Regions from separate parts of the Homo sapiens genome. Here region 2 is linked to region 1. Evidence: promoter capture Hi-C in human tissues and cell types (Jung and others, 2019). All regions are on one chromosome and are shown on one strand. The core of a region is centred on a gene start or on the middle of the fragment in contact, and the rest is flanking DNA. Distances in the headings are between cores, read along the strand shown.

What was found. Contacts are between HindIII fragments. The study calls those that stand out against the background at their distance.
Region 2: a fragment that was not itself captured here is called in contact with the fragment with the promoter of SCD in region 1 in 1 of the 25 tissues and cell types used here (dorsolateral prefrontal cortex).

What each region holds. Positions count from the first base shown.
Region 1 is chr10:100,345,319-100,349,768 of GRCh38, reverse strand. SCD (stearoyl-CoA desaturase) reads right to left here and starts at 2,536. Exons shown (of 6, transcript NM_005063.5): 1 at 2,238-2,536; 2 at 1,423-1,705. The coding sequence starts at 2,264. RefSeq lists enhancers at 2,172-2,411, 2,792-2,861, 2,510-3,101 and silencers at 2,642-2,691, 2,892-3,271. The HindIII fragment of the contact is 8,743 bases long and covers 177-4,450 here.
Region 2 is chr10:101,431,737-101,436,186 of GRCh38, reverse strand. All of the region lies in intron 2 of BTRC (beta-transducin repeat containing E3 ubiquitin protein ligase), which reads right to left. Among named protein-coding and RNA genes, the nearest start is that of BTRC, 80 kb to the right of the region's middle. The HindIII fragment of the contact is 5,602 bases long and covers 1-4,450 here.

The DNA of each region.
Region 1 (4,450 bases), core at 1,287-3,786:
AATACAAGAGCTCTTCCTGGTATGCAGATGAACTGATCTGCACCTGGCCTGTTCTGTCTCTGCGGCTGTGACACATATGTAACCCAAGGAATGCTACCTTCCCCATCCTAAAAAAGTACTGTTGCCCACAGGTGGTACCTAGAAAAACTGAGATCCTGACAAAGGGGCTCTTCTCAGTTGCATTTCACTGTAGCACCTGGAGGATTTCTGGAAACAAAAGCTCAATGAACCAGATCTCACCATCTTCAGAAGACCTAAGAGGTCCTGAGGGAAACAGCTAAAACTTGGCCTACCAGCCCTTCTGCATAACTACCCTTCAAGAGCGAGCTGTCAGAAAGTTTCCCACACCAGAAGTCCTGGCTCACCACCCCTTAGAGAGTAGCAGTGCAGGGCCCCTGGATCTGCAGAGCTCCCTGCTTTCCCTTCCCAACTTAGGCTCATAGTGACAGAGGTGAAAAAGCCTGCAAAGCGCATGTGTGTATCCAGGGGGCAGGGCCATGCCATCAGGCCACACCAACAGGTCCCTGAAAGAGCTGAGCTAAGGGCAGGTCGGGGACAAACTGGGAACTGTCTCCCTCATTACAGCAGCCTCAAGACCGGGCTCTCTTTTCTGGCCTGGCCTCGATGTCCCTGGCAAGGAGGGATGGGTAGGACTGGTGTTGGAAGGTGCAGAATTCTTGGCACTTCATGGCATCAGTAGGGGGGCCTGAAGCAGGCTGGACGGGGGATGGAACATGAAACATATCTTCAGCCTGATTTCATTCTAAGAGCATTTTGTTGACTGGTATGTGCAGCACCCTGGAATGTAGAGTAACAGAGCAACACACACCTGTGTGACTTGGGTTGCACGGGAGCTTCATCTTCCTCTGTAACGAAGAAGCCTGGTCTGGCCAAGGGGTCAGGTCAAAATAGTTTTGTGGATAACAACCTCTCTTTTCCTCTCTTTCCAATGAGCTCTCTCCTCCCTTTCCAATAAACTCTCTCCCTGAGTAGTTTCCCTTGTGCTAGCCTATGATTGCTCAACACAAACCCTAGAAAGCCAATGGTTTAGTACCATGTTCCCATGCCTCCCAGGTAGAGGGGTTTGATTCTTTTGTGGCTGGCAGGGGTGGGACAGGCAGCCAAGCAAATGACTCAAACAGAAAAGCTCTTTCAGGGAAAGCTGACTCTCCAGCACAGCACACTTCAAAGCCCACAAGCACAAGGTTCCAAAGCTCTCAACCCCCAGCATTGACAGTCCTGCATCTCAGTACCCCCAGGTTCTTCCCAGCCCACTAGGCCTGAAGCAACCAAAGAGAAATGCCTGAGAAAAACCCCAACCGGGAGGCTGGGAGGGGCTGGTGTCCTCTGTAAGATCCTACCTTATTAAAAGAGCAGTGAGTACCTGGAGGACTAGGTCAGGAGGACAGGGAGGCTGCTTACCCCAAAGCCAGGTGTAGAACTTGCAGGTAGGAATCAAAGTGATCCCATACAGGGCTCCCAAGTGTAGCAGAGACATAAGGATGATGTTTCTCCAGACATATTCAACCTTGGGGCTTGGGCCTTCCTTATCCTTGTAGGTGGGGTCATATATATCATCTTTTATATCAGGGCGAATGTCGTCTTCCAAGTAGAGGGGCATCGTCTCCAACTTATCTCCTCCATTCTGCAGGACCCTGGAGGGAGGCGCTGTAATGGTGGTGGTGGTGGTATAGGAGCTAGAGATCTGGAAGGGGGAGGAAGAGGAGAGTCAGGAGAAGAGACACGTGGAGGCAGCTGGGGCCACTCCGCTCTCTAATCACGCTGGGGGAAGGGTGGACAGTACGGACCCTTCCGCAGCGCCGTAGTTCACTGAGGGTAGGGTGTATCCGAGACGCAACGGAGAAAAGTTCCCTGAAACTGTACAGATACATTAGGGGCGGAGGGCGAGGGGGACGAGGGGCGCGAAACCTATCGGGAGGCGGCAGTAGGAAGGAGAAGTAAAGCACTCACATCCCCACGAAGACAAAGGAAAACCCGCATAATTCATAAAAGCACCAGCACGACCGGATTTTTCTTTAAAGCTTAAGAAACTAAAGTTGGAGACTCAAGTCCCCAAATTACAATCCACATTCCCAACTCACGGAAGGCAGCACAACTCGAAAAAGATGACCAAGTCCTCCGCGGAGCTCTCCCCTCTCTTCTGCCACCAACCCGTCCCCTGGAAGCCCAGCCCGCGCCTGCGACCCGGCGGTACGGGGCCAGGCTGGGAAACTCACATCGTCCTGCAGCAAGTGGGCCGGCATCTTGGCTCTCGGATGCCGGGATCACTTTCCAGGGGGCTGAGGCTCCGGAGCGGAGTTCGGGGTCGCCGGAGGACTGCGGTTTCGAAGCCCGCCGGTACGCGCTGAGCCGCGGCGCCTTGCACGCTAGCTGGTTGTCGGCGCTAGCCGCGGTGCGTGGAGGTCCCCGAGCCGGGAATTTAAAGGCTAGAGCTGGCAACGGGTGACCGTGTCCGGTATTTCCTCAGCCCCCTTTTATCCGCTGCCAAGCAGGGGCAAAGTGCGAGGAGTTGACTGGCGCGGGCGGTCCCGCGTGGAGGTAAGGGCGGGAGGGGGAGGAGACAGAGGCCGAGGCTCGCGGCGACCGCAGCAGGGCGCCGGGGATGCTGCCGACACCGACACCACACCACCCGGCCTCTGCCCCTGCCCCTGCCTCTGGGGAAATGCTAATGAGGCTTCTGTAAACTCCGGCTCGTCATTGGCCGAAGGGAATTTGGTGCCACCTCGTCCTGCCGTTGCCATTGGCTCGGCGCAATCTGCTGTTCCCTCTGCCGCCAGCTCCTCGCTCCCCCTCCCCTCTGTTTCTCCTTCTCAGCTTCTCTTCCACCCGCCGCTGGGCCTCTGCCCGGCATCCCGCGTCGGGAGCTTTCTCTCTGGAAGGGGCTGGGGACCCGGTTTGGGGCTGGGGCGCGGAGCCTAGCCCAGGACCGGCCCTCGGGCACACGGAGAACGGGTGGGTGGGCACTGGGGAAGTTTCTCAGGAAACAGTGGTGAACCCTCGGGGGGCGCCCACCACTAACATCTCCGTCCCGTCTTCCGTCCCCCCAGGCGCGTGGCAGGGAGACGTGGCAGCCACCCCAGGATCTGGAGCTTGGGGGACGCGGGAAGCCCCGCCTCCCTCCCGGGCGAGCGCGGGGGACTCGGTACGCCTGCGAACAATGGCTCTGCCCCGCCCACCAGCCACGCGCTGCTCACCCGGGACCGCACCGGACTCCGGCCGCACACACAGGCTGGCTGGTGTGTGTGTGCCTGCGCGCACGCATCCTGTTCAGGACCCGGGCGGGCAGTCCCATCCCCAAGCCCGCGCCTCCAGGATGCGTGCGGGATGTTTTGGAGATTCTTCAGACTGGCAGGTTGTAATTTTGGAATCTTCTTTGTGGAAACCGTCAGGAAACACTGACATGTGTTTTCACCCAGCAGCAGGCGAAAGGGCTTGGATGTGGAATAAGAATAGCTGGCAGGTATTGAATTATTACTGCAAGCCAATTCACAAGAATCGTTTTCTGTAAGCCTCTCTGTGACCCTGGGAGGTGGGTACCCCATTATTCCATTTTAAAAGTGAGGAAAGAGATATGGAGAGATGGAATAACTTGCCCATGGTCACAGCAACCAGTAAGTGATGGAGCTGGCAGTTGAGCCCAGAAACACCATATGAGAGCCCAAGCTCTTAATCCCTGCTCAGGACCATATTGCCCTCGGTCCCTGAGATGCTCTGACCCTACTGATCTGTCCCTGTGCCCCCATCTTTTCCGTGTCTGTAGGAGCCTTACCATGAGAGCTCAGAACCAGGCAGGCTATGCATTCACCCGGTGTCCTTCCATGCCCATGTCTTTCCCAAATACTGCCCTAGGATCCTTCCCCTGGGAAGAGGAGAAAATACGGAGTGCTGCGCCAATGATTCACTTCCCAGGAAGACAAGCACCTGGGATTTCCTGGGAGGTAGACTAAGCAGCTCCTTTGTTGGCCACTGGTCTCAGGGTCAGGCCAACTCTCTGGCCAGTGACCAGGAGACTGCATTCCAGTCCTGGCTCCCTGTCCGGTGTGAAAGTTCTGAACAAGACTGGATGATTTCAGATGTGGACAGCTCATCCAGTCATGCCTCAGAAGTACTTGGCATGTGGCACAGAAATCTGTACGTGGTCTGACCCCCTTCAGGTTCTCTCTGCAATGTCTAATTTGCTTAATTCTTTTGTTTTTTGTTTTTTTGAGAGGAAGTCTCGCTCTCTCCCCCAGGCTGGAGTGCAGTGGTGTGATCTCGCTTCACTGCAACCTCTGCCTCCCGGGTTCAAGAAATTCTCCTGCCTCACCCTCCCAAGTAGCTGGGATTACAGGCATGCGCCACCACACTTAGCTAATTTTTTGTATTTTTAGTAGAGACGGGGTTTCACCATGTTGGCCAGGCTGGTTTTGAACTCCTGACCTCAGGTGAT
Region 2 (4,450 bases), core at 1,317-3,816, 1.1 Mb before region 1:
CAAATATATCTACTGGTAATCAACAGAAATCTTCTAATCACTCATACACTTTCCAGGATAAATCAATGGAATGATGAAAATAAAAATATCCTCAAACTAAACATATCCCCATAGAATTTATTCTAACAACTTTTTTCAGCATCTTCCCTGTCACTAGTTTTCAAACCATCTCAATGCTGTGGTTTCAATTTGAGCTACTGGGAATAATCCAACAAATTCAGCAATGACTCCATAGCTTCTCCTTCTTTATTGCCATAAGAATTTTGACTTAAGATGCTTCAAACTTACTAAAAGAATCCAATGATCAAAAAAAAAAAGTCATGAAGCCATTACATTAAATGAGACATTTCATTAACATATTTGTCAATATTAGTAAAAATGGGTATTCCTGTGACAACCACTTTGAAGAATTGCTTCACTGTCTCTTTTAAAGTTAAAAATACACTTACTCTATGACCCAACAAATTCCATTCTTAGACATGTACCTAAGAGAAATAAAAATACATGCCAAAAAAAAGACTTATACAAAACTGTTTATAGTAGCTTTATTAATAATAGGCCAAAATTGGAAACAATCCAAATACCTATCAATAAATGAATGGATAAACAAATTGTGGTGTACTAATATAATGAAATATATTTAACAATAAAAGAGAACTACTGATATACGTAACATGGATAAATCTTAAAAACATCATACTGATTGAAAGAAAACAGACACAAAGAATGTACACTATATGATGGCATTTATATGAAGTAAGTTCAAGAATAGGCAACACAAATTCTTGGTGACAAATCAGAACAGTAATTGCATATGGGGGATGGGTACAGACTGGAAAGGAGTATGAGGAAACTCAGATTATGAAACTGTTGTGTATCTTGAAATTGAAGGTTACACAAAAGTATGCATTTGTCAAAACTCACCTAAGAGTACACTTATGATCCATGTATCTCACTGTATGTAAATTTTACCTAAATAAAAATCTAAGTAAATAATTTACCTAAATAAAAATCTAGGTAAATAAAATAAAACCTAAACCAGAAGGATGCAAATGCACTAAGACTGCTGTAATTCCAGTAGGTGGGCAGAGAAGATACTAGATTCAAATCCAGTTTCTGCCTATTAGTCAACCAGTATTATCAAGCACCTGTGTGTGCTGAACCTGACATAGAACAAATTATTGAATTGATAGGGTAAAACCAGTACATAAGCCCATTTTTGCTACATAAGACATAATAATAATCTTGTTGAGGCCAGGTGCAGTGGCTCATGCCAGTAATCCCAGGACTTTAGGAGGCCGAGGTGGGCAGATCACCTGAAGACAGGAGTTTAAGAACAGCCTGGCCAACATGGCTGAAACCCCGTCTCTACTAAATTTGCGTTTTTAGTAGAGACGGGGTTTCAGCCATGTTGGTCAGGCTGTTCTTAAGCAGTGGTTTTTCACAGGCACTATAGCCCTGAACTCCTGGGCTTAAGCAATCCTCCCGCCTCAGCTTCCTGAGTAGCTGGGACTACAGGCATGCACTGCTGTACCTGGTTCCTGCTCATTTTTTTAAAGTGTCTTTTGAAAAGCAGAATTTTTAAACAGTGATGAAGTCCAATTTATCAGTTATTTCTTTTATGGTTCATATTTTTTGTATCTTAGCTAAGAAATCTCTGCCTAACCCAAAGTCACAATGATTATTTTTGCCACATTTTCTATTAGTTTTATACATGTTAACTCCGATTTAGGTCTATGATCCATTTCAAATTAATTTATGTATATAGTGCAGTATAACCGTTGAGGTTCATTGTTTTGCACAAGGATATCCAATTGTTCCAGCATAATTTATTGAAAAAAACTGAGACCAATGGATTTTAATACAATAACAGAGGAAGTTCATTGATAAGGCTTCAGATACCATACTGCAACTAATCTTCAAGAAACTGCAACTACCTGAAAATGGTATTAAAATATCTTTCCCTTTCAAACTATATACCTATGCCAGGTCAGATATTACTCACATATGTCAACCAAAATAACAAACCACAATAGATTGAGTGCAGAAGCAGACATGAGAATCCAGCTGTCTTTTCTTAATCCAGACATTAAAGAGATTCATAAAAATGTAATACACTAGTCTTAATTTTTTTTGAAAAATATATTTTTCATAAAAATGTTATTTGCATTATATGCCACAGGTTTATTATAGTCTTTAGGTGAATTAAAGAATATTTAATTTTTTTTTCTTAATTCCTATTACAAATATAGTGAATATCAATAGATATAAGCCATATAAACAAAAGCACTTTGGGGTCCTCAATAATTTTTTAAGAATTTAAAGATCCTGGGTCCAAAACCAAGCTGCCATCATCTCTCTCTTCAACTACTGAAATTATCCTTTTTATAGCCAGAGTAACATATCTAAATGCATCTTCTTATAGCCAGAGTAATGCAAATCAGATCAGGTAAAACTTGTGCTTAAATCCTTTCAGTGACTTACTATTCTTAGAATCAAGACTAAACTACACACTTTGAATGGCCCATAAGACCTCAGTGATCAAGCTTCCCCAGTCTTTTCTCACTCTATTCTCCCCTTTCTCTTTATTCTCTGAAACAACAGTCTTGTTTTCAGTAGGGTCCTTAAATGCACCAAGCCTCACTGGCTCTTGGGGCCTTTGCACTGACTCTTCCTTAGGCCTGAAATGTCCTCCTTCTCCTCCATTCCTCCCTGTTATCGAGTTAATTCCTATTCATCCTTCAGCTCTTAAACATTGATTACCTGATCTTCTTTACCTCAAACTTCAGGTTAGATTGGGTCCCCCTTTTATATATTCTTACAGCTCCTTGAACATTCCCTTCCTAGAATTTATCAGCTTGGGAGATTACACTTTCAGAATTATGTGATTTAATAGCTCTCAATCATTTCACAAAATAGAAATATAATAAACATCTATATATGTATGTAAAGTATTCAACACAATGTTGCCAAATACCCAAGATCAATAGTTCTCATCAGATTCCCAAAGAGATCCATGACCCCTGTGTAGTGAAGAATTACTCTTCACCAAAGAAAGGAATGGCCTTTCCTCTTGGCTACTGGAAAGCGGTCTCTGGGCCCCTGGAACTTCTTGTCTGGTGAGAGTATCTCTGCTTGCCTGAGAGATTTAGCGACTGGACAAATGTGATTCATGTTGGGGGCACTAAACCATACCTATAAGTTTCAACACCAGGAGGAAATAAGAGACTAGAAGTCAGCCATGTGAGCAGTATGTGATAGAGCCCCAGTGAATACCTGGACACCAAAGGCTCAGGTCAATTTCATGGTTGGTAATACTCTGTGAGTATTGTCACACACTGCGGCTGGGAGGCAGTAATGCCATCCATGACTCCATGGGGAGAGGATGACAGGAAGTTCTACAATTGGATCCTTCCGAGATTCTGCCCTATGTGTCTCTTCTTTTGGCTAATTTTAACCTGTGTCCTTTTCCTGTAATAAACTGTGAGTATAATTGTTTTCAGTGAATTCTAAGTCCTTTCTAGCAAGTTATCAAACCTAAGAGTGGTTGTGGGGGCCTCTAAACATGAAACTAGTTTCTGAAGTAGGAGCAGCCTTTTAGGCACTACAATTCCCTCAGACTTTGCAGATCGCCTAAACTAACTGCAACCCCGAAAAGGTTAAAAAACAAAACAAAACAAAAAAACCAACAAACTAGACTATGGATTCTTCAATGGCAGAACCTTGTCAGTATGATATGTAGTTAAAAATATAGGATATAGCCAAGTGCAGTGGCTCACATCTGTAATCCCAGCACTTTGGGAGGCTGAGGCAGGCAGATCACTTGAGCTGGGGAGTTCGATACCAGCCTGGACAACATGGTGAAACCCTATCTCCACAAAAAAAATAGAAAAATGAGCCAAGTGTGGTCGTGTGCCTGTAGTCTCAGCTACCCGGAAGTTTGAGGTAGGAGGGCAACTAGAGCCCAGTAGGCAGAGGTTGCTGTGAGTCGAGATTGTGCCACTGCACTCTAGCCTGGACAACAGAGCAAGACTGTCTCAAAAAAAAAAAAAGGAAAAAAAAGATATTTCACTTTGAAATAAATAAGCAGTCTCAGGATATCAATTACTCTCCAATAATAGCAATAATGTTTATAACGATCATGATAAAAGCAGCTACCATCACTGCATGCCCTTACTATAGTATCCATTTACAGATAAGGAAATAAGTTCAGGATCATACCACTAGTGACAAAGACAATATTCAAGACTTGATTTAGCTAATTTTAGAACCTGCATGCTTTACTATATTGTATCTCATAGTATAAGCCAAGGAAGTTTAATATTAAATTTTGTAAAGGAAAACTGAAAATCTTAAGATATTAAATTTTGTAAAGGAAAAATGAAAATATCCAGCTTTATGATCACTAAATAGTATCATTAAAAATTAACAACTCTTAGCATAGGTTAGG